Linked DNA regions of Homo sapiens: regions 2 and 3 are each linked to region 1. Evidence: promoter capture Hi-C in 16 types of primary human blood cells and fetal thymus (Javierre and others, 2016). All regions are on one chromosome and are shown on one strand. Each heading gives the region's core, a stretch centred on a gene start or on the middle of the fragment in contact. The rest is flanking DNA. Distances are from core to core; before and after follow the strand shown.

Region 1 (4,212 bases), core at 675-3,174:
CCTCACTGAATCCTACGGCTTTGTCCCTCGTGCTGTCCCAGCTCCCCTCAGCCTCACCTGCCTGCCTGTAACCGGGCATGACAAAAAGAGCCTTGGCTCTGGGTTCTGCCACTCCATCACTGCCAGCTGTGTGCCCTGGGAAGCCACTTGACCTCTTTGAGCCTGGCTTTCCTCATCTGTAAAATGGGGACAACAGTCCCATTTCACTGGGTACTGGGGTGGGGGGGTGGAATCAAATGGGAGACTGTTCATGAAAATGCTCTGTATATTAGAGGATTTTTTTCCAACGTAAAGAGGCTAAAAATAAGGCCTGATGACTAAACTAACATATACACTATCACATTTTGGGGGTGGGGAGTGTCTTCCTTGGAAGTGATGGAAATTTGCATTGAGTGCCTGGCATGGATCACCTGACTTAATTCTCCCGACAGTCCTAAGCCGACCCTGGGTTTCAGAGAGGTTTAGTAATTTTACCATTATCCCTCAGCTTGTAAGCCTGGAGCTAAGCCCCTTCCTCTCCTGGGCCGGGGGGCTTTCTGACAATTTAGGGTGCTAGTCTCCAAACTCGCCTGCTGGTGGAGCTTGTTAAATAGATCCATTCTGGATCCCCATTCTGCACCCCCTGAGTGATGGGTTGTATTAATCCAGGTATTTATTGAACACAAATTATGTGCCCACGATGAGGGAAGAGCAAACAAAGCAGATACAGCACCACCCTCAGGGATTGGGGAGTGGCAGCAACCCTCCTGGGGAGAGGTCCCCAGAATCTGGATGTGTACTCGAGACTTTTATGATCAGGCCAGTGTTTGGGGAATGGTGGTTATAAAATGAGAGGCTGGGGCAGGGAGTGGGGATGTTCTGAGAACCTGTCCACACACTGACAGCCTCAATGGGTTCTGTGGCACCCCTGAGCCCTGGGATGGCAACTGCAAGAATTTACTATCCATGGTCACAGATCTTCAGGCCCTGTGAAGCATCCAGATCCCCGCTCTGAATAGGCCAACTGGGCCAGGACCGGGAGTCAGGAAGGTTTCCGCCTTTTTTTTTTTTTTTTTTTTTTTGAGATGGAGTCTTGCTCTGTCGCCCAGGCTCCAGGCTGGAGTGCAGTGGCACCATCTCGGTTCACTGAAATCTCCGCCTCCCGGGTTCAAGCGATTCTCCTGCCTCAGCCTCCCACATAGCTGGGATCACTGGCACGCACCACCATGCCCGGCTACTTTTGTATTTTCAGTAGAGACGAGGTTTCGCCATGTTGGCCAGGCTGGTCTCAAACTCCCGACCTCAGGTGATCCGCCTGCTTCGGCCTCCCAAAGTGCTGGGATTACAGGCGTGAGCCACCGCGCCCGGCCCCTGCTTTCTTAAAGAACACGCGGCAGCTGTGTGTTACACGCTATGGCTGAGGTCAAGTGTGAGGGCTGGAATTGCTGACTGCCATGTTCTGGGTCTACTGAAAATAGCTGCCTGGCCTGGGAGGCCCAGTTCAGTCCGGGTGTGGGTCCCGCTTCACCTCCAGAGCAGCGGCAGCCGGTAAGGGTAGAAGCGGCCTTTGGAGAGGGGTCTCTGCAGCGGCCTGGGGACAAGATGAGGGCTCCTTTGAGTCCTGGGGTGCAGGTTATAGTAGCTAAAGGGGAGGTCTGAGACAGTGGGGTCTGGCTCCAAGGTAAAGAAGGAGCAGCAACCAAAAGGCCTGATGCGCAGCGCACCCATCGCAAGCATGGGCAGTGCGTTTAAGACTGGGTGACTCACTTTTTCTCCTATAAAATGGGCGCACGCAGGCCCCAGCTCAGCGCCAGAAGGGGGAGCCCCGGCGCGCCGGCAGAAGACAAAGGAAAAAAGCGTGTTTGCAAACGGGGAAGCGGCGGCGTGCTGCCGCGAGGGGCGGGGCGGGGCCGGGGGAGGAGCCCGCCTGCCGCCTGCCAAGCCCAGTGGTCCTGGCCGTGCGCCGGAGGCAGCGGCGGCGTGGCGCAGCGGCGACAGTAAGTGCGGGCCGGCTCGGGCTCTTCCGGCTACGGTCCCGGCCGCCCCCAGACTCGCGCTCAGCGACCTCCCTCCCGGGCCCTGGGGGCGGCTGCGGGCTGCCAGGGGAGCCGCAGGACCCTACCCCATCCGTGGTCCCTTCCCCACCGTCCCTCCTCTCTCTCCTTGCTCTCTGCCACCCCTCTTTCTGGGTCTCTATCTTCTCTTCCCCAAATCCTCTCCCCTCCTCCTCCCTGAGACTGGACCTCACCGCCTGTATGGTGGGGGCCTGGTATGGACCCGTCGGCCCGAAGTATCCAGACGGTGGCTGATTCTCTCGGTCCCAGCTGCGGGGCCTGAGGCTGGGGCTGTTTACACCGCAAAGCCGGTTCTGCCGCGGCCAGTAGGCGGTGCCCTGCGCTTCCCAGTGCCTTCCCACAGGTTAGCCCTACCAGCTCCCCACCCCGGTTCACAGCCCAGGAGATCGAGGCACAGAGGGGCGAGCCACCTAGCCAGAGTCAGGAACCTCCTTGGAACCAGCACCCAGGCTTCCCAGCCCAGATGAGGTTTTGCCGCGGCCCCAGCAGTGCCTGCCTCCTTGTGTGGGGCTGTCTGTCTGTGCATGGCCGGGCTCCCGCAGGTGACCCAGGAGCACGTTCCAGGCCACAGCCAGCTTGTTTTGGGGAAGGTTGGGCACTTCCTTGCCTGCCTTTCTCTTTATTTTTTAATCCAGAAGCCAGCAGCTAGCTTTTATAAAGACTAATAAGACTTTGCTCACTCCAGTGCCCTGGCCTGTGACCCTGGTTAGAGAAAATTCCTGGCTCCTTCTTCAGAAGCTCAGTCAAGCCTTGACAAATAGACGCTAGGAACTGAGAAGGGGGCCCTAGCCAGGTGTGGTCCTGAGTGACAGGGCTGGTGGACCTTCTAGCCGCCCCCACAGGTAGCTGGAGCCTCTGGAAAGAACCACTTGCCGGTTCTCTCTTGTTCTATGTGGGTGGGTCATGATTATTTTTTACATTTTAAACACTAATTTTTAAAATGTAACAAGTGAGCTTGTTACATTTGTACCATTTTGTGCCAGACAAAATAGCATAGACTGGGTGGCTTAAACAAAATTTGTTTCTCATGGATCTGGAGGCTGGGAAGGGCAAGATCAAGGTGCTGGTTGATTTGGTTTCTGATGAGGGCTCTCTTCCTGGCTTGCAGACAGCCTCCTTCTTGCTGTGCCTTCACATGGCTTTTCCTCTATGAGTGGGTGCATGTGGAAAAAGCGATTTTCCACACAGTGAGCTTCCAGACAGTGAGCTTGTTAATGCTGGCCTCCATGCGAATCCAGGCTGGGGAGGGGCTCTGCTAACCAGGGGAGTTTAAAATAGACTTGCTGGCTGGATGCATTGCACTTGGGCATCCAGTGGCCCCCCACCTGCTGGCTCCAGGGTACATGCTACCCCAGCAGGGGAGAATGTCCTGGTCGTGCAGAGTCCGTTCATTCAGCAAACATTGACAAGGGTGCCTGCAGTGTGCCTGGGCCCCTCCCGACTCACTGGCTTCAAGGCTTGCAGGAAGGATGCCTGTACTTGGAACCAGCAGACACAGATTCCCATTCCCAGCCAGTCCTCCCCGGTGTGCTGAGGAGTCCAGCATGGGCCCCAGTCTGCTTGGCTGTGTAACTTCACTCTTGTCATCTACTAGTTATGTGACCCTGGGCAAGTTACTCAACCTTTCTGAGCCTCAGACCCCTCTGTGAAATGGGTCTTAGAGTAGTACCTAATATATTAGGCTGTTGTCAGCCTCAAGTGTGACCTCTGTTAGGCACAGACCTTGGCATTTGTGATCACTGGACTTAAGTTTAGCTATTGGGAGTTCTTTCTATTTGTGGGACATAGCAAGTGCCTTCCAGACCTCAGTTTTTCCATCTGAAAAAAGGGGGCAATGTTTTCTGCCCTGCCTAATTCCAAGGGATGCTCTGAGGTTCTCCTGAAATAGTGGATAAGGTTCTGCACCCATGTGAGGAGGTGTTCCCATCCCACCAGGGAATAAAGGCCCCAGTCTTCTTGGTACGATGCTTTGAGTTAGGCTTAGCCTCCTATAGAAACCAAGATGCATTTATTTATTAGTTTATTGGGTGGGGAAGAGGCTACTGCAGAAGGGACTCTGAAGTGTCCCATCCTCAGCATTTTGGAGACATTTCTCATTTATCAAGCTGCTGCCACATCCTAGGTGCTATGTAGAGCAAAGAAGCAGGCATGCTACCTT
Region 2 (4,212 bases), core at 1,162-3,661, 240 kb after region 1:
TAAAACATTTATTGAATGCCTTCTATGCACAAGTGACAGTGCCAGGACTAAAGAGGTATCCAAGGTAAATAGCAAAAAGGAAGAGGAGGGTGAAGAGTGGGAGCTGGGAAAGAGGGGGAGGTCTCGTATGGCTGCAGCAGGTCAGGAGGGCCATTCGATAAGCACTTTGATGAGTGTCTTTCAGGGATTCCAAAAAGCCAGTACACAGCTGGAAGCTGTGAAGGAGGGACTCTGAGGAGGGACTTGGAGATGGGAGGGTGCTGAGTTGGCTCTGGAGGAGACCAGAACAGCTGGGGAGACCAGCTTAGGCCCAGAGAGATGTCCTCGAGCCATGTCAGGGTGTGAGTGACTTAGGGCCCAGGCCACAGAGCTGGCAGCCCACCCCGGCTCTCAGAGCATACCTGGCACATTTTAGATCCAGTACATTTCACCCAAGAGAGCAAATACTGGTAGAAAGAAGAGATGTCGTCAAATTATCGCTCCCCGATTCCTCCAGGCAGAGATGCCGGAGTATGGGTACACATGGGTTTATGCACACATGTGCCCCTCCCTGACCAGAATGGGGCTCCCTGAGATATGTGTTGGTGCCCCATGGGCATTCGCCCCTCCTGCTTCTCTCCCCTATACTGTCCTCTGTGTGGACCTCGTCCTCCTGCGCTCAAGTGCCTTCCTGCCTATTTGAGAAAGAAACATAGCCCACCTCTCCCATAGACCCCATTTCTCCTCCATCACTGCTCCCCCATAAGCTGGAATGCCACAAACCCCCATATTTGGAAGTGACATCCTCCCAAAGCATCCCAGTAGGAGAGGCGCCTGCTTTAGCATCCAACAGAAACCGAAGTGCAGATGTTTCTCCTCTGCCCCAGGAGCCCATGTTCAGAAAGTTCCTTGCCTCTGACTTGAATTCTTCTTGTTCCAATGGGAGCCCATTTTCTTATTCTCAGTGAAAGTGTGCAATTTTGAAGTACCCTCCTTCCTTCCTAAGCTCTTTTTTGGCTACAGCTCCCCACCAAACCTCTGTTCTCTTACCTAGAGGCGTCTTCAGCTGCCACCCTCATCCCCAGCCCTTCCAGACCAGGAAGTCCCACTTGAGGAGGGGCCCTGAGCCCACTCTCCACCCTTTTCTCTGGAATCCTGAGGTCTGGGCACAGAAAGGTGACCCGACTTTGAATCCTGATTCCACCACTTACAATCTGTGCGACCTTGGACAAGTGGCTTCATTTCTCTGACCTTCCATTTTCCCCATCTGGGAAAAGGAAGCAGGGAGCGGAGGTGTATAAAAATGCAACTGAGGGCAGAGGATGGGAGGGCAGAATCCCACTAGCCCCTCTCCTCTCCCCACCCCAGCCCCAGCAGACAGCTGCCCAGCCTCTGAGTAGCACAGGAGGCTGTTACCAGCTCTGATCCACCGAGAAGCCTGCACCTTGTCAGGACTCCATCTGTCAGGAATTTATTACTAATGCATTTTATAACAGGCTCTGTAATAAGATATTAAAGACTGTAGCAGCATCTAGCAAGCATTCCATAAATATTAATAACACCTTTAGAGATGGCACCTATGGTGGAAATGGTAGGGCTTTTTGCCAAAGTTTGGTCAAGGGTACAGCATAAATCTTGAAGGGGGTGAAGGGAGCAGGTGCACCCTAAAGGTGAGAGGGTGTGGCGTCCTTCTTTTCTCTCTCTCTCCTATCTTCCTTTCTCTTGCTGCTTAATTTTTGTATGTCTTTTCCTCTGTTCATAAGTTTTCCTCTAGAATGTCTCTTTTTTTTCCTGTTTCAGTTAGTTCCTTTCTCCCCAAGTTTCCTTTCCTCCCTTTTCTCTCGCAAATTATCTTTCCACTTTATCCCGTTTTCACTCTGGCCCTCAGTCCTGCCCCTCTCACTGTTCTCACCGCATTTTCCTCTGTGTTCCTGTGCTCTTCCTTCTCCTTGCCCCTCCTCCCTGCCCCCCTTTCTTTACTGCTCTCTCTGTCTGGTTCCTCCTTCCTGCCTCTCTGCCCCACTCCCTCTGGCCTTTTCTCCCTTGCTGCACACCCTCCCTCACCCTGTTCCAGTGAGCAACCTAGCCACCTCTGGAGAGGCCTGGAGTGTAATGTAACTCACACTGCATGTGAGAAGTGAGCTATTTATCATTATTATTAACAAACAAGATCCTTTGCACGGCAGAACTTTCCCAGAGTCTATTCCCTTGTCACCCCAGGAGTAGCAAAAAGATTTATTTGTCTCTGAATTGCACAGGGTGGCCCATTTACAGCAGGTCCATCAGAAGTGATATGGAGCTTAAATGGGAACTGGAAGAGGCAAGACCTGCCGTGGGTTACTTGGCGAGAGAGACAACCTGGCAGGTGCAAGAATTTTGAAGGGGATAATGCCTAGACATGCTCCCTGGTCCCCTGAAGGCATGGGTGTACATTTGGGGAGACTTCCTTTGAAATGGCCCAGAAGCCATAAGGGAGTAGGTGGGACTGGGCAGGGGGGTACCATGAAGGAGGGGAGGAGGGAAGCAGGGGTGGGGCAGAGAAGTGGGTCAAGAGGCCTCCCTCAGAAGCAGAAGTGATCATGCCCCATGGGGTCTTTCTTCCAAAGACCACGGCTGCTCCTTTCCAGCAAGAAGCTGGACCCAGGGCGAGTGTCCACAATGGAGGTGTTGGAAGAAGCTACCCTGGAAAGGAGGAGCCCAACCCCCAGCTGCAACAGGCCTCTTGGTGCTGCTTCTACAACTCCAACCCGTGCAGCCCCAACCCCAGACACTCCAAGCCCCACCCCAGACGCCCCGAACCCCACCCCAGACACCAGAGCGACATCTTCCACTCATTCTCCTTGTCCTCAGATGGCAAAGTCTGGCCCTGCCGAGCATCTCTCTTCAAGGCCTGTCCTGGCTGACTGTGTGAAGTCCATGATCAAGCCATCCCTTGCCCGTCCGGCCACCTCCCCATGCGCATGCTGATAATTGCCTGCAACCTGGATTTGCACGTTAATAGGAGTGTCTGGAGACGGTTAAAAAGAAGAGGGAGCTGGCATTTACCCAGGCTCCTTGATTCTTCTCCCCATTGTAACTTCCAGCCTCGGGTGGCGGGCACTGTGCCCTCATTAGCAGTCCAGGAGTGGTGGCCTGGCACTTTGCTTGCTGTGGGCGCTAAAGAGGTAGAGTCCCATCAGCAGAGGGTCTGGGTGAGCCTGGGGCAGAGCCATGGAAATGAGGAGGCCCTGCCCATGGCTGGGCATGTTCTGGGGGGCAGGAGCAAGGAGCTGAGACCCATGCAGGCCAGCGTGAGCAAGTGGGGTGCCCATAGAAAGGACGGCACAGGCAGGTCCCAGCACCGCAGCCATGGGCAGGAGACAAAGTCAGCGGGGCCTGGGACAGCCAGGGTGGGAGGCTCTTGGAGGCCCTCATCTCCATTTTTTCTCCTGCACTGTGCTCTGCTCCGCTCACTGCAGGTGGGCTTCCTCTGACTGCCTGTGGCATCTCTGCCACCCTGTAACTGTGGCTTTTGTGTGGCTCTCGGCCTGTCATGGTGCCCACTCCAGCCAGATAACAAGATCTTTCTTTCAGATTCTCAGAGAAAATTGATTTAATTTCTCAGGCCCCACCTGATTGGCATGGCCTGGGTCTGAAGTCACTTGGAACAAACATGAGTGCCTAGACCCATCACCTAGAGCAGAGCTGTGGTCATGAGGAGCAGCTGTTCTTGGAAGGAGGGTGGGTGGGGAGGCAGCTGTTGGTATCTCTTTGGGTGGGGTGGAAAGAGCACTCCGTATGAGTCAAGGCACCCGATTTCCACTCTTCGACTCTGTCATGATCCACTTGTGAGGCCTGGAGCAAGGCACATCCCCTCTCTGGGCTCATTTTCACATCTGTAGTCCACCCTAGGAAATGGGGAGGCTGGACTAGATGACCCCAAGGTTCCTTCCAGCTCCTGCATTCCAGCCATCCAGGGTGGTGTATGGTCAGGACTGGCTTCCTCGTTTAGGAGCCTCCCAGGCCCCCAGGTGCCCCCCTCACCCCTGCCTCAGATCCCACCCCTCCCCTCACAGGCTCTCAAGCCCATTGTGGAAGGTCTTCTGGGGCTCTTCCATCCTCATCTTGTCTTCAGCAGCCAGGATCCAATCAGCAGAGATGTTCTCTTTCTGAATTTTAAGGTGCCCATTTGTCCCAAGTTCATGGTGAAGAGATTCATTAACTGTTTACACTATTTCTAATACTTCCCCCTTT
Region 3 (4,212 bases), core at 655-3,154, 220 kb after region 1:
GCGCCTTCTATCTAGGGATCGCTCAGTGTGTGAAGACCCTCTCAGGATCTTCGATGTAGTTGACTTGGAGATAGAAAGGTGGCGTAGCTTAGTAATTAACAGCCAGGTATCTGGGCATCACAGCCTGGGGTTGGATCCCAGCTCTGCTCGCTCCATGTGACCTTGGGCAAGTTACTTCTTTTCTCCAGAACCTCCTTTTCCTCATATGGAGAATGAGGGAGAGTGGGATAGAGGACAAAAGAATCCCTAGGATCGTCCAGCTGGGAGAATATTGATTAATCTGTGACTCTGTGATTTGCAGCCCTCAATCCTCTGTCTTTAGGGTCTTGCTGTGCTTAAGGATTCTTGGTCACAAGGCTGCCACCTCCGATGGCAGGACTCAGGGCCTGGCCTCCCTGCCTGCCCAACAGATGTCAGTTCTCCAGGGCCCCCTCTGCCCACAAGTCTTTGCCCTGTACAGCCTCTCTCTGGGCTTTGCAGGGAGGCTGAGCTCAGCAGGCGCCCACCTAGGCAGGAGGCCGAGAAGATAAGGCCAGCCAAGACCTGGCTGCTGATACCTGGCGTGAAATTGAAAAGCACCAGACTCCTGCCTCCACAGCCTGGTGCCCTGAGGGAGAGAAGGCTGGGAATGGTGAATGAAACTGACCCGCCCAGCCAGCAGGGCCAGGCTCCAGGCTGCCACACTTCAGCTCTCCCCACCCCTTCCCCTGGGGGAGGCACAGGCTGAGCGGGTTCTTCGAGGCTCTGAACAGCAAGCCCCTTTCCAGGGTGGCAGCGTGCAGGGGGCTTCTGTGAGCCTAGGGGCTTTAGTGGGCCCCTGGTTTTGAAGTGGGGGACAACCACCAAAAAGGGGAATTGGATGGGAGTGCCCTTGCCTTGTGGAATTAGGCCTGTCCAGAGGCCAGCGTTGCAGTGCTCTAAGGTCATTGTAATGCAAGGCTAGCAAGTCCAGAACTTCTCAGAACAGCCCGAATGCACAGACTTATGAGACGCTGTTCCTCCAGGGCCCCATTCAGCAGGTGTGGACACCAAGGCCCGGAGAGCTGAGCACCCGGCCCCACCCAGGAGTACAGGGAGTTGGGTGGGGACCCAAGTGTCTGATTTCTGGAGCAGGGCTTTCACTTCTGCAGCCCAGTATGGTCCAGAACTTGTCACCCTCATCCTCAGGCCTGTTGTCCCCGAGGACCTCCATTATCCAGAGAGCACTGGAAGAAACCTTGCTGTAGTAGACCTGAGGATGGGGACAGCTCCCCTCTCTCCTTACCCTCACTGTCAAAGCACCCACAGATCAGATGTCTGATGGTAATGACCTCTCCAGGGTCTGGCCCACAGCATGTTTATTAGGGTCCATATGCAGCCGATGCTGTCCATGCCGGGTGAATACATGCCAAGTGATTTCCTGTTCACCCAGTTCCGCATAGATGATTCTGGTTATAACAGTGCAAGCTAAGAGGGAGGAAGTCAACCATTTTTTTTCCATCAGCAATCTGAATTTTACAAGTCCTCATGCTTCTCCTAGCCACTCTAGCAAGGGAAAAGGTTCTTTCCATTTGACAGATGGGAAACTGAGGCCCAGATGGGCACTGTGATTACCTTCAGGCTCTATAGAGTTCAGGGGCCAGGGTGGAGCTGAACCTCCCAGCACCCTCTTACCAGCCACCCCACCCCATGTGGGGATGTGGAGGATCCCAGGGCTGCTGGGACCTGTTGCTTCACAGTGACTTGGTTCTCCCAAAGCTGCTAAGTACTGTAGAGCAGAATGAAGTGCAGCAGACGGATCCTTGGGCCTCTTAGAGAGTGCCCCAATTTGTAAAACAAAGCTTGAGAAGGAGAAAAAAAAAAGATGGAAAAAAGCAAATTGGAAGCAAGAGCAGGCTGTATTTTCCATCCCTTCAACCATCAGCTGCTTTAAAGGGCCAGCCTCGTCCTCGTGGGGCAGGATAGGATAAGGAGGCAGGCCTGAGCTTTTAATCAGAGTTATGTTAGATAAAGCTTTTATTATTCACCTGGCTTTATTATAGCTCTTTCCTGAGGTTAGAAGCTAATTTTCCTGGTTTTTACCGAACTCTGGTCTGCTTGGCTGCCACAGATGCAGGAGAGGTGGACGGGAGTAGCGGAAAAAAGGGAGATGGGGGTAGAAATCAAATCAAATAAACTCTCCTCATCCAGTGGACCGAGAGAGTGGGCGGAAAACAACTCTAATAACAGGGGAAGTTTCCAGAGGTGGAAGCAGGCTGGTGAAATCAGGCCTAATCAGCTCTAGCAGAAGGGGTTCCAATCACCCCCAGCCTCACCAGGGGGAGGGCAGAGTGGACGAAGCTGGCGATGGGAGTAGGCTGGGGGCTGGACAGTGGCAGGCAAGGCAATCAGAGCCCTGCCAGCAGAGCCTGCCCCACGCCCGCTCCCACCCTCTGCCTTGTGTTCCAGCCACAGGAGTGGGAATGCTGGCAGAGGGTTAACCGGTTAGTGACCGGGATGGAAAAGAGGAGGAGCATACCTACACCAGGCCCGGGGCCACAGGCACGTTGCCCTGGGACACGCTGCACACCCCAAATACCCCTCCCACAATCAGGCATGAAGTAGAAGCCACCAATGCCACAGACAAGACCCACGAGGCAAAGAACTTTGGCCACAGCTATCTGGGGGAAGAAGATAGTGCTCCGTTTTCTAACTCTCCCCACCTTCAAAGGGAGTCGGATCATTTTCAGTTGACTTCTCCGCCAGTCAGGAGCCCATCGAATGATGTTCCAATTTCTTGACAGTTAGAGAGTCATTTTATGGCTAGATTTAGAGGTTGGAGGTGGTCTGTGGCTGGGGTCTGGTGTCTGTGACTGGTGCAGTGTGTGCCCTGGGGTAACCCTGGGGACAGAGTCAGTCCCCGACCCCAACCCCTGGTGACAGTAGCAGGAGGGGAAAGCCACGTCCACCCTGTAAGTTACTGTCGAAGGAGGGATTCGCATCCACTAAACAGCCATTAGGCCAGAAGCACCAGATGCAATAGCTTGAAAGAGACAGCAGTGCTCACCCCAGCCTTTCCTGGGGGTTGATCATTTAATCTCTTTAGCTCCTGCTACAAGAGGGAAAGAAGACTGCAGAGAGGAGAGGTGATATTGAGACAGGCACCGTGCTCCCAGGCCACGGCAGGGGAGGGGGAGGACAGAGCAGCTGTCCCTGCCAGAGAGGTCAGTGGCCTTCGGAGAAACCCATTAGACCGTTCTCATCCACCGTGCGTTTCATTAAAAGTGAGACAGTTTGCACCTTCCACTTTCTCGGGCTGTCTTCAGGTTGTCGTCATCAATGAGCCTGCCCTGTGTCCCCTGCAGGGGCTGATTTCTGTTTGCTCCATAAGGAGACCCGATGCTTACCCCCAAAGAGTCTTTTGCACTTTCAGTTAGTCTGATAAGCTTTAGATGCCACATACCATCTTCCTATTTGCTATCATTCATTTATTCATTCAAGAAACAGTTCTTCAGGGCCTACTGTGTGCTAAGCACTGTTCCCAGAGCTGGGGACGCAGCCAAACAAAACTGATGGAGTCCCTGCTGTTGGCACCTTTCATCTAGTGGGGGAGACAAGACAACCAACGCATACATCTATGTCTGCTGGTGAGAAGGGCCACAAAGAAAAATAAAGCAGGCAAGTGGCTAGCGCAGGCTTTGTGGCCAGGGAGGGCCTCTCTGAGGACATGTGAGCAGAGACCTTGAGGGAGTGAAGCACGCATTATCTTAGGGGAGGTGACTCTCCAGGTAGAGGACAGAGTGATTGCAGAGGCCACCCCCACCCCCCAGGGAGTGACGGGCAATGCCAGGAGGACATCTGGGGTGGTATAGACACCCGAGGGAAGTACCAGGGCCAAACAGAAGTAAGACTGAAAGCAGAGGGTTTTGGAGTCTTGTGTAACCCGGCTGTCCAAGTTTGCCCATCCAAGGATTTCTGGTCTTGCAGCCTCATTTCCCCTCTGATCTGATGGCCACAGCATTCTCACACCCAGGACAGGGAAATCACTGTTTTCCAGCTCATATCCCCTCTCGGTGTCTTGTCTCAAAGCCCCTCCGCCTCTCCAGTGCTGGTCATGGTCTCCTTACCAATGCCCCTTCTCCATGTTTATTTCAGCAACTGTAACTCAGTCCAAAGCATCTTCCTCTCTACCTTTAGAGCTTGTGGAGACATTCGTAAAAGAAACAGAGGCATTTGCTCGTGCGGAAAAATGGA

What was found. The method cuts DNA at HindIII sites, captures the fragments that hold promoters and counts their contacts. A CHiCAGO score of 5 or more calls a contact.
Region 2: a contact is called between a fragment that was not itself captured here and the fragment with the promoter of SLC29A3 in region 1, in 15 of 17 cell types (megakaryocytes, naive B cells, total CD4 T cells and 12 more). The highest score is 9.6, in megakaryocytes.
Region 3: a fragment that was not itself captured here is called in contact with the fragment with the promoter of SLC29A3 in region 1 in 1 of 17 cell types (naive B cells); the score reaches 6.5 in naive B cells.

The regions. Positions count from the first base shown.
Region 1 is chr10:71,317,335-71,321,546 of GRCh38, forward strand. SLC29A3 (solute carrier family 29 member 3) reads left to right here and starts at 1,925. Exons shown (of 6, transcript NM_018344.6): 1 at 1,925-1,976. The coding sequence starts at 1,976. LOC124902445 (a long non-coding RNA gene) reads right to left here and starts at 2,329. Exons shown (of 2, transcript XR_007062183.1): 1 at 2,228-2,329; 2 at 635-1,570. RefSeq lists a silencer at 1,722-2,171. The HindIII fragment of the contact is 7,819 bases long and covers 1-4,212 here.
Region 2 is chr10:71,559,372-71,563,583 of GRCh38, forward strand. The region is part of intron 6 of CDH23 (cadherin related 23); the gene reads left to right. Among named protein-coding and RNA genes, the nearest start is that of CDH23-AS1, 50 kb to the left of the region's middle. RefSeq lists enhancers at 2,697-3,220, 3,221-3,744. The HindIII fragment of the contact is 6,224 bases long and covers 1-4,212 here.
Region 3 is chr10:71,542,119-71,546,330 of GRCh38, forward strand. The region is part of intron 6 of CDH23 (cadherin related 23); the gene reads left to right. Among named protein-coding and RNA genes, the nearest start is that of CDH23-AS1, 32 kb to the left of the region's middle. RefSeq lists enhancers at 62-641, 1,893-2,402. The HindIII fragment of the contact is 172 bases long and covers 1,819-1,990 here.